Regions from separate parts of the Homo sapiens genome. Here region 2 is linked to region 1. Evidence: promoter capture Hi-C in 16 types of primary human blood cells and fetal thymus (Javierre and others, 2016). All regions are on one chromosome and are shown on one strand. The core of a region is centred on a gene start or on the middle of the fragment in contact, and the rest is flanking DNA. Distances in the headings are between cores, read along the strand shown. Region 1 holds the start of LDB3 (LIM domain binding 3). Region 2 overlaps MMRN2 (multimerin 2).

Evidence for each region. The method cuts DNA at HindIII sites, captures the fragments that hold promoters and counts their contacts. A CHiCAGO score of 5 or more calls a contact.
Region 2: a contact is called between a fragment that was not itself captured here and the fragment with the promoter of LDB3 in region 1, in 1 of 17 cell types (M1 macrophages). The highest score is 5.1, in M1 macrophages.

What each region holds. Positions count from the first base shown.
Region 1 is chr10:86,667,094-86,672,095 of GRCh38, forward strand. LDB3 (LIM domain binding 3) reads left to right here and starts at 1,418. Exons shown (of 14, transcript NM_007078.3): 1 at 1,418-1,477; 2 at 1,576-1,691. The coding sequence starts at 1,599. RefSeq lists an enhancer at 1,549-1,598. The HindIII fragment of the contact is 20,890 bases long and covers 1-5,002 here.
Region 2 is chr10:86,936,693-86,941,694 of GRCh38, forward strand. MMRN2 (multimerin 2) reads right to left here. Exons shown (of 7, transcript NM_024756.3): 7 at 1-433. The coding sequence ends at 51. Among named protein-coding and RNA genes, the nearest start is that of MMRN2, 18 kb to the right of the region's middle. RefSeq lists enhancers at 2,760-3,054, 3,198-3,247, 3,677-4,177. The HindIII fragment of the contact is 2,628 bases long and covers 1,588-4,215 here.

The sequences.
Region 1 (5,002 bases), core at 168-2,667:
AGGAAGTGATTAAGCAGGGAAAAGGACACAGGTCTTTTCCTGACTTCTTCCACTTGATAGTTTTGTGACTTTGGGCAAGTGACAAAACAACCCCGTAATATGGGTGATCCTACCTTGTACCTTGCATGTGCCAGGCCCCAGGAGTGAGGCTAGAAGCTGAGAAATGACTCACACCCAGGCCTCTACTGACTCCTCAGGGTCCAAGCCAGACCCCTCCAAGAGGGCCAGCAAGCAGCCAACCCAGTTGCCTCCCCTGAGCCTCAGTTTCTCCAACCAAGGAGCCAGGGTGGGCCTTGATCTATCTCCAGACCACATAGGGGCCTGAGGTCTTTCTTGGGGAAGGGGTTGGCCCAAAGACCGCACTGGCAGAAGTCCCAAGGTGCTGAGGCCCCCATCCAGAACACACTGTCTCTGGGGTACAGGCTGAACATGCCACACGTGCTTCCCCCTCCCTGCCCCTCCTGGCCCTGTGTCTAGCAGCTGAGCAAATGGCGTCTCCTCCCTTCTCCCTGCCCCCTGCCATTCCTGCGCAAAGGGCACGGGGCCTGGCGTGTGGCACTGGCAGCTGGAGCTTTCCATGCTGCCGTCAAGTTTTCCAGAGCACAAAGACAGGAGAGCCAGGAATAACTGGCTGGGCCCCCAGAGGGTCTGGAGGGGATGGGCCTGCCTCAGACCTGCTTTCAGACCCTATGCCAAGGGGTGCAGGCAGAGGGCCAGCTGCCCAGGACCAGGGCTTTGGGAGGCTTCTGTGGCTACTGGGAGCCCATTATCTGGCATGCATTCTGTAGGAATCAGCCCAGGCTCCAGTGTGACCTGGGTCCACTCCTTGTGTGACCTTGGAGAAGTCATTTAACCTCCCTGAGCTTTGTCTCCTGCGGGCCCAGGTGGCAGCTTCTCAGGATCCCAGGGAGTGAAGGGCCCATACTGAGGTTGGCTATGCCCAGAGCTGCTGTTATGATGATCGTTTTTATGGCTGGACAACCCTGGGCCAGTCACAGACCAGCTGGAGGCTCAGCTCAAGCCAAGGCACCTCCAGGGCCCCATACTGGATAAAGCACAACCCCAGAATCCTGGCCAGGGACCACACGGCAGCAAAGCCCCTACCCAAGGGAGCTCAGCCCCTGGTCTTCTGAGCAAGAGGATGGGTACCACTGGGCAGGAAGAGCGAGTGTCTACGCTCTCCAGAGGACACAGGAGCAAGGAGACCAGAGCATTCTCACCAACCAGGCCAGTTCCCCTTCCTCCCCCCTGGGGGGTGCTGGGTGCCGGACACCCCTCCCCAGGGGCTATATTAGCCGTGTGAGTCATGGTGGACCGGCTGGGAGGCGGCAGGCTGGCAGGCACAGTGTAGGGTTACAGTCCATTTATGGGCGCAGCCGAAGGCAGATATCAGTGTCGATGGCATTCGCTCCCAGCTATTCTTAGGAGCCTCTCAAGAGCTCCACGCAGCCCGGCTGGGCAGCAAGGGACAGAACAGGCAAGGCTGGGGGTCAGGGGCAGGGGCAGAGGTGTGGACCGGGCAGGCGGAGTGCCTGAGTGCCCTCTCACTCAACCCTCTCTACCCTTTGTCTGCAGAGGCGGCCGCTGACAGCACCAGCATGTCTTACAGTGTGACCCTGACTGGGCCCGGGCCCTGGGGCTTCCGTCTGCAGGGGGGCAAGGACTTCAACATGCCCCTCACTATCTCCCGGGTGAGTGCACCCTGCCACAGCCTGGCACCCGATGGGGCAGGCACGCTTGGAGGAGGGCATGTGTGTCCGTCTGTCTGTCTGTCCTTTCTGAGCCTCTCAGAAAGCAGAGCATGCCCCATCCCCTGGGACTGGCCTGGTCCTCTGGTCTCAGCCACAGCTGTTTGCTCACTGGAGCGCGCCGGCCTGTTATGCATGTGAGACATCATGAGCAGGTGGTAGGTGTTTTTAGCAGAGAAGAAAATGCTGAGTTTTCAGGCAGGCAGGCAGGCAGGCAGGCAGGTAGCTGGACAGAGAGTACAGCACCTTCCTGATCCCTTTACTGTTAGAGTGGGCTCAGGGTGCCCCCAAGCCTTGAGCATTTCCCTAGATATGGGCAGCTGCTTTGGGAAGGGAGTATTCCCAGCATGGAGAGGGCAGGTGATGGGCAGTTGGATAGATGGACAGACAGACGGTTGACCTTGGCTGCCCAGCTGTCAGAGTGTGGGGCTGGGCTGGACTGAGTACTGGGCACCTGCTCCATCCCAAACTTGAGACACCAAGACCCTGGCTCATGGGGCTGGGCGCTTCTCCCCATTCACCATGGCTGCTTTGTCTGTCTCAGGTCTTGTTCCCCACAAGTGCTGGGGCCTGGTGAGATGGCCCCCTATCCTGCAGTGTCTGTGATGGGGAGCAGCATGGCCTGATGCAGATGACACAGAACATCAGGGGTTGTCTGAGTAACTCTACCGCCTGGCTGGAGACAGCAACACCAGAGAGGCAGAAAGTTAGCCATGCTCCTGAGGAAGCACTCCAGGAGCAGGGACTGATGGGGGAACAGCCCCCAGACCGTAGTAGGCACTCCGTCAGTTTCTGTCAAACAAAGAGACTCCCCAGCAAGGCACTGGTAGACCCAGGGCTGAAGGCCCCAAGGCTCAGGGCGAACTGTGAGGCATACAGGGCAAGGACAACCCTGCCTGGTGGCTGAGCCCCTGACCGTGCTGTTCCGGGCACAAGGCCAGAGGGGGAGGCCCCCAGTCTGTCACTGGAGGGTGGTAGGTAGGCAGGGGTATCTGGGCTACTGCCCACCAGGGGAACAAGGGGACAGTTTCTTCTCTGGGGCCTTAAGGACTTGCCTTGGGCCTGGGGGCTGGAGGAAGGGGTTGGAGGGGAAGCACTGAAGTGGGCAAGGCCTGAAGGGGCTTGGCAGAGGGGCCAGGGAACCTGGGCAGCGGGTCAGGAGCCAATGCCCCCAGTGGAGGAGTAATCTTTTTTTTGTTCCACGGGTACTTGAGGGGACCCCAGAAGTAGAAGCCCCACCCAGGGATGCCGTGAGAGCCTTATAATAGCCATAGAGGCCACATGCTTACAGGAGGGGTGCTGGCCTGGCTCTGGTGCAGGGAACAGGCCCTGACCTCCATCCTTCAGTTGCAGATGTGGCTTGTTCTAACCTGGAGATTCCACCCCTCCAGATCTACTGCCCTGGAGACCACAGGGTCCTGGGCACCCACAGCCTTGCACACTTTGCATGAGGTGGTGACCTGTGAGCATGTGAGCCCCAGTGGATTTCCCACTGCCCTTTCCCACAGCTCCCCACCCCCATGCTTGCAGGACTCCTTCCTGTATAAGGTGGAGCCTCTGTGTGCTCTCTCATGGGCCCTGTGGCCTCCCCTGCCTGGGACTGAGCCCACATCTCCCCCAGCTCCACCATCTCGAGGCCTCCTGCTGGTGCTCCCTGCCCTATCCCTATGGGTGCAAATTGGCCACTGGGCTCAGTGGCACTCAGGATAGCCAATGACCTCACCCAGGGTCTATGTGCCACCTGGCCCCGGCCAGCCAGGGGCTTAAATGGCAGCCCAGAAGCCTTAAGCTAGATAGCAGGAGGAATGTCCTTACTCTGGGGAGGGGGTATGCAGGGATGTGCTGGATCCAATGACTGTGGGGACTTCTAAAAATAGAACCCGAAGCTCGGGCAGGGCACCGGGGGATGGGCATGATATGGCCTCTCGGCTTCCTTTAGGGGCATACCCCAAATCACCTAAGCCGCGGAGCAGGCTGGACTGGGTACTGGAGCCTTCCCCAGGGCTCGGAGCCTCTTGAGAAATTTTGGTGGTAGGCTGCTGATAGCCTGGGCTTGTGTCCTGGTTCAGTGCCGCTGGCAGGGCAGGCCTTGTGGACACAGCCCTGCCATCCCACCAGGGCTGTAGGATTTACTGCCGGGGCTCGCAGGGCCCTTCTGCACCAGGGACATCCCCCTACGGGGGAGGCATGGCCAGAGCTCTCTGGAGGAACCCCACTCCCACCCCAGCCAGGACCTGAGCCTGTGCCATAGGGCACCAGAGGCAAGAGTGTGTGACCCTGTGGGGTGGGCAGGCAGGCGAGGCTGGGATCGTTACCTCGCTTCAGAGCCTGGCAAACTGAGGCTCGAGTCTGCTCACAGGACAGGGATGTCCATGGGTGGATCTCCTGTATCCTGTCACCCCTAACTCCCATGCTGGCTTGCTCACCCCTCTAACTGGGACTAATAGAGAGGCACTGGGGAGGGTCTGTCCCCTCTCAGCTGCAGGTGTGTGCTGCAGCTCCTCCTGGAAGGACACAGGCCACCTGCAGGCTGGGTGGTGGCTCCCGGGGGCTCATGGCAGCAACTTTGGGGCAGCAGCAGCCCCTCAAGGCATCCCTTCATAGGGTCTCTGCTTGCAGACCCACAGAGAAGGGAGTTCAAGAGGGAGACTGGGAAAGGAGGGTGGCGGGGAAATGCCTTTATTTATCCTGGACAGGTGTGGCTGGGCCTGCAACATGAGCTGCCCTTTCACCCCACCCCAGCCAGTTCTCCAGGAAGTGGAGAAGGGGGAGCAGCCCAGAGAGGGAGCAGCTCCAAAGGCCTCTGCCCTGGCAGCTGGCCAGAGGCTGGGGCTGTGGTCTGGGGTCTCACCTCTTCATGCCTCTCATGCCTCCGCCTTGGGGAAGAGGAGTATGCTTTGTTAGGCTCTGCTGCTCTCAGCTGTGTCACCTCAGAAGTCTGTTTACCTGCTCGGCCTCAGTTTTTCTCACCCTTAAAATGGGGATAGCAGGCTGGGCGCGGTGCCTCATGCCTGTAATCCCAGCACTTTGGGAGGCCGAGGGGGCAGACCACTTGAGGTCAGGAGTTTGAGACCAGCCTGGCCAACATGGTGAAACCCTGTCTCCACTAAAAATACAAAAATTAGCCAGGTGTGGTGGTACATGCTTGTGATCCCAGCTACTCAAGAGGCTGAGGCAGGAGAACAGCTTGAACCCAGGAGGCAGAGGTTGCAGTGAGCTGAGATCGCACCACTGCACTCCATTCTGGGGGCAGA
Region 2 (5,002 bases), core at 1,652-4,151, 270 kb after region 1:
CGAGGAGAGCTGGGCGAGTCCATGATGTCTGATCAGATTGGGGCTGGGGTTCAGGTCTTAAACATCAGGAAGCCCCCAAATGCAGTGCCCGACAGGCTTCTCTTTGTTATTGATCCCTGGGTTAACTCAAACCATACTCGCTCACCCTTCTGCAGCTCAGCCATGGCAAAGACCGTTGCTGTGCTTCCACTCCCCTGCCCAGTGGTACAGACTGGAGTCCGATGGTGACCTCCAAACACCAGCTGCCCGGTGCCTGGCCCTGGGCCAAATTCAACGCTCACTGCAAACAGGTAGACACCACGCTCAGGGGCTCGGAAGTAGCCATGTTCAGGGAAGTAGCTGCTGCCAATGTTGATGTATGTGGTGTTGAACTTCACTGTCTGCAGGGCAGCCGTCCCTTCTGAAAAGCTGGCATAGAAGGCCACAGGGGATCCTGAAACATAACAGGACAGTGCTTAGTGATTCATCCCTTACACCATTGGGTGGGAAATTAAACCCTGAGACCTACCGTCCTCACCTTATTAGCAATGGAAATAGGTCACTATTTCTAGATAACCTAGATATTCCCAACAGCAGTGTTATTGCAGGAGAAAAGCTAGATGGCCAATTCTGTTTTTCACTAATAGAGAGGAAGGAAAATGCAAGTCTGTTGTCTGAGCTGGTGTACATTTTAACAAAATACTTTCATTTTTTTTTTAGACAGGGACTCACTCTGTCTCCCAGGCTGGAGTGCAGCAGTGGTCATGACTCACTGCAGCCCTTTTTTTTTTTTAACGTAGAGATGGAGTCTTACTATGTTGCCCAGGCTGATCTGGAGCTCCTGGGCTCAAGTGATCCTCCAGCCTCAGCTTCCCAAAATGTTGGGCTTGCAGGTGAGCCACCATGCCCAGCCACAAAGCACTTTCTCGTTTGATCCCTTTTCCTTCCAACTTCCTTGAGAGACAGTATCCCTGATTGACAAAACAGGTTGAATCCTTCACCGGCTGCCCAAGGCTACATGGTTTGTAAATGGCAGGCTGGGACAGGAACACGGGTCTCTGACTCCCAGACGACCACCACTTGCTAGGAATCTTGAGATACTCAGGGGAGAGGGAGAAAATATCCATCCTCAAGGTAATAATAATGCTAACACTGGGAAGGTATCTGCAGAGCCATGAAGGCTGGATCCTCCTGGATGTTGAAGACAGAACCTTGGAGAAAGAAGGAAAGAGCAGGTGGAGCCAGGGAAGAGAAGCCCCTTCAAGCTGGTCTTCTTTTTTTTAGTTGATAAAGGGTCTCTTGTTGCCCAGACTGGAGTGCATTGGCGATCATGGCTCACTGCAGCCTCAACTTCCTGGGCTCAAGCAATCCTCCCACCTCAGCCACCTGAGTAGCTGGGTCTACAGGCATACGCCATCATGCCTGGCTAATTTTTTATTTTTTGTAGAGACAGAGTCTTGCTCTGTTGCCCAGGCTGGTCTCAAACTCCTGAGCTCAAGCGGTCCTCCCACCTCAACCCCGCAAAGTGCTGGGATTACAGGTGTGAGCCACTGTTACTGGCCAAGCTGGTCATCTTACATATGGGTAAATTGAGGCCCAGAAAGAAAAAGCTTATTGCTCCAGACCACACAACTAGTAAATTACCAAGCCTCCTGGGAACAGACCTTGAATCTCTAGACTTCTGGTTCTCTGCAGGGACCACTTTGGCCAGCCTTAGGACAGGAACACTGACAGAACACTGGTGCCAGGCCCATGCACGGGCACAGAAGCAGAGGAAGCTGCCATGTGTGGAGGGTGTACAAACAGCCAGGAAGAAGCCAGTCCTGCTGCCTGGACAGCATGGTTGGGCAGCTGGGGACAGGGTCATGAGATGGCACAGGAAAGGTAAGTCCTACTTGGGTCCTGGCTGTGACACTGGCCTTGGCACCAACGAGGTCATGTCCACCATGGGGTTCCTCAACTTGCTCCCTCTGTAGGGGTTTAAAACAAGGTCCCCATTTCTTAGGTGATAAAACCAAAGCCTTCAGAGGAGCAGTTTGCTGAGCAATTACTGACTTGGGTCCCGGAACTCAAGCCTCAGCTCTTTGACTCCCAATCCAGCAAGCCTTTGTGAATAAAAAAATGTTGCTTTTCTCTAGTTCTGGAAGATTTTCTGAGAATTAGACAGCTGAGAATAGCTTTCTCATTTGTGTTCAGATTGTGTCAAATCAGCCGGGCGCAGTGGCTCACGCCTGTAATCCCAGCACTTTGGGAGGCCAAGGCGGGCGGATCACCTGAAGTCGGGAATTCGAGACCAGCGTGACCAACATGGAGAAATCCCATCTCTACTAAAAATACAAAATTAGCCAGGCGTGGTGGGGCATACCTGTAATCCCAGCTACTTGGGAGGCTGAGGCATGAGAATCGCTTGCACCCGGGAGGCGGAGGTTGCCGTGAGCCGAGATCACGCCGTTGCACTCCAGCCTGGGCAACGAGAGTGAAACTCCGTCAAAAAAAAAAAAAAAAAAAAATGCCGGGCGCAATGGCTCACGCCTGTAATCCCAGCACTTTGGAAGGCCGAGGTGGGCGGATCACGAGGTCAGGAGATAGAGACCAGCCTGGCCAACATGGTGAAATCCCGTCTCTACTAAAACTACAAAAATTAGCTGGGCATGGTGGCAGGCGCCTGTAATCCTAGCTACTCGGGAGGCTGAGGCAGGAGAATCGTTTGAACCCGGAAGGCGGAGGTTGCAGTGAGCCGAGATCGTGCCATTGCACTCCACCCTGAGCGAAAGGGCGAGACTCCGTCTCAAAAAAAAAAAAAAAAAAAAAAAAAAAAAAAAGATTGTGCCCAAGTCAGAGGCCGGCGGCTGCCTCTGCAATTCCCCTAACACCCTGCAGGTGGTTCTCTTGCCTAGCCGAAGGAAGGCCGGCCCGCAGCGCCCTCTACCGGTGCTAGGCCCTCGTTCCGGCCGTTCCGTCCGGGCGCCTGCGCAGGGAGTTCCGCCGCAGAGAGAGACCCCCACCCCAACCCAGCCTTGCGCCTGACAGGCCCTAAGATGCGGGAAGGGCTGTGCAAACTCAGAGTGTGCTTCCCTGCAGGGCACACATTCAAGCCCTACAGCCTTCCTACAAACAAATAAAGGGAAATTTGGGGTGTGTGTGTGTGTGTGTGTGTGTGTGTGTGTTTGTGTGTGTGTGTGTGTGTGTGTGTGTTTGAGACAGAGTCCTACTCTGCCGCCCAGGCTGGAGTGCAATGGAGCTATCTTGGCTCACAGCAACCTCTGCCTCCCAGGTTCAAGCGATTCTCCTGCCTCAGCCTTCCAGGTAGTTGGGATTACAGGTGCCTGCCACCACACCGGGCTAATTTTTTTTTTTTTTTTGACAGTTTCGCTCTTCTTGCCCAGGCTGGAGTGCAGTGGCGCAATCTCGGCTCACTGCAGCCTCTGCCTCCCGGGTTCAAGTGATTCTCCTGTCTCAGCCTCCCGAGTAGCTGGGATTAGGCGCCCGCCACCACACCCGGCTAATTTTGTATTTTTAGTAGAGATGGGGTTTCACCATGTTGGCCAGGCTGGTCTTGAACTCCTGACCTCAAGTGATCCACCCGCCTCGGCCTCCCAAACTGCTGGGATTATAGGCATGAGCCACTGCGCCCGGCCTGGAAATTTGTTTTTAAGAACAACATTTTTTTGAAATAAATATCGTCGTGGTAAACACATTTCCAAACCGTGGGGCAAATTCTGAAAGTCATCAGCATATTGAAGCCTTGCACCACGCACGAGAGGAAACAAGAGAGAAGTGTCAGTGTCGGTGGACACAACCTGAACCCTGAAAATGCTGGGGAAATGGGAAAACGTTGACTGCGTTCCTACATGAGGTAAGCCTCGTGCTAGGTATTTGGTAAACGCAGCAGTCTTCATAACAAAACTTTGACATGGGTAGGGATTCTGCCATTTTACTGAGGAAGAAACAGACAAGTGATGCCAGAGCCTGGGTGCTTCCCACTGCTCCACATTGCCTCTTGGGCCATAGGGAGGGTCAGCTGGGGCAGGGGCTGCCTGGGACGGGACCTTCAACAAGGCCTTGGACTTGCCACACGCCAGGCTGCACATGGCCAAGATGGTGGCCTTGTACTTAGCCCTGTGTCTGGGTGGGGAGAGGCCACAGCTCCAAGGCCAGCCTCTGGCAGAGAGAGTCACTTGAGACACAGAGCCTAGTTGTCCCCCTCCCGGGACCACACTCAGGGAGGGGATGGGAAGCTTGGTTGCACATGCCTTCAGCCTCAAAGCCAGCTCCCAGGCCCAGGGCCCTGCAGGGACCAGCCATGGAGGGCCTTCTGGAGGTGAAGAACCGGCACCCTAAAGACAGCGCTCCTCTGCTGCTCACTAGCTGTGCAAGCAGGAAACTTGTGTTTGCGCCTCAGTTTCAGGTAAGATGGAAGTGCTGATGAGTGTGTCATTGACCTGTTGGGATGGGCCATTGTGGTAAAGCCCAGGAAGGGGACTAGCACAGAGCGATGAGACAGGTTAACTGTATTTGCAGAGGGAATGAGCTCCTTTCAGGGCCCACGGCTTTCCCTGTACAGTCCACTGAGGTGTGTTCCAAGACCTTAGCAGGTGCCTGAAATCTCAGACAGTACCAAACCCTATATATACTATTTATTTTCCTCTATGTACATACCTATGCCAAAGTTTAACTTGTAAATTAGGCACAGTAAGAGATTGACAATAATAATAAAATATAAAGCAATTATAACAGTATACTGTAATAAAAGTTATATGAATGTGGTGTCTCCCTCTCTCAAAATCTTATTGTACTGTACTCACCTATTTTCTGATCGTGGTTGATGCAAGAAACTGAAATCAAGGCTGGGCACATGGCTCACACCTGTAATCCTAACACTTTAGGAGGCTGAGGTGGGCAGATTACTTGATCCCAGGAATTTGAGACCAGCCTGGGCACCATAGCAAGACCCTGTCTCTACAAAAAGTACAAAAATTAGCTAGGCATGGTGACACATGCCTGTAAGTCCTAGCTACTCTGG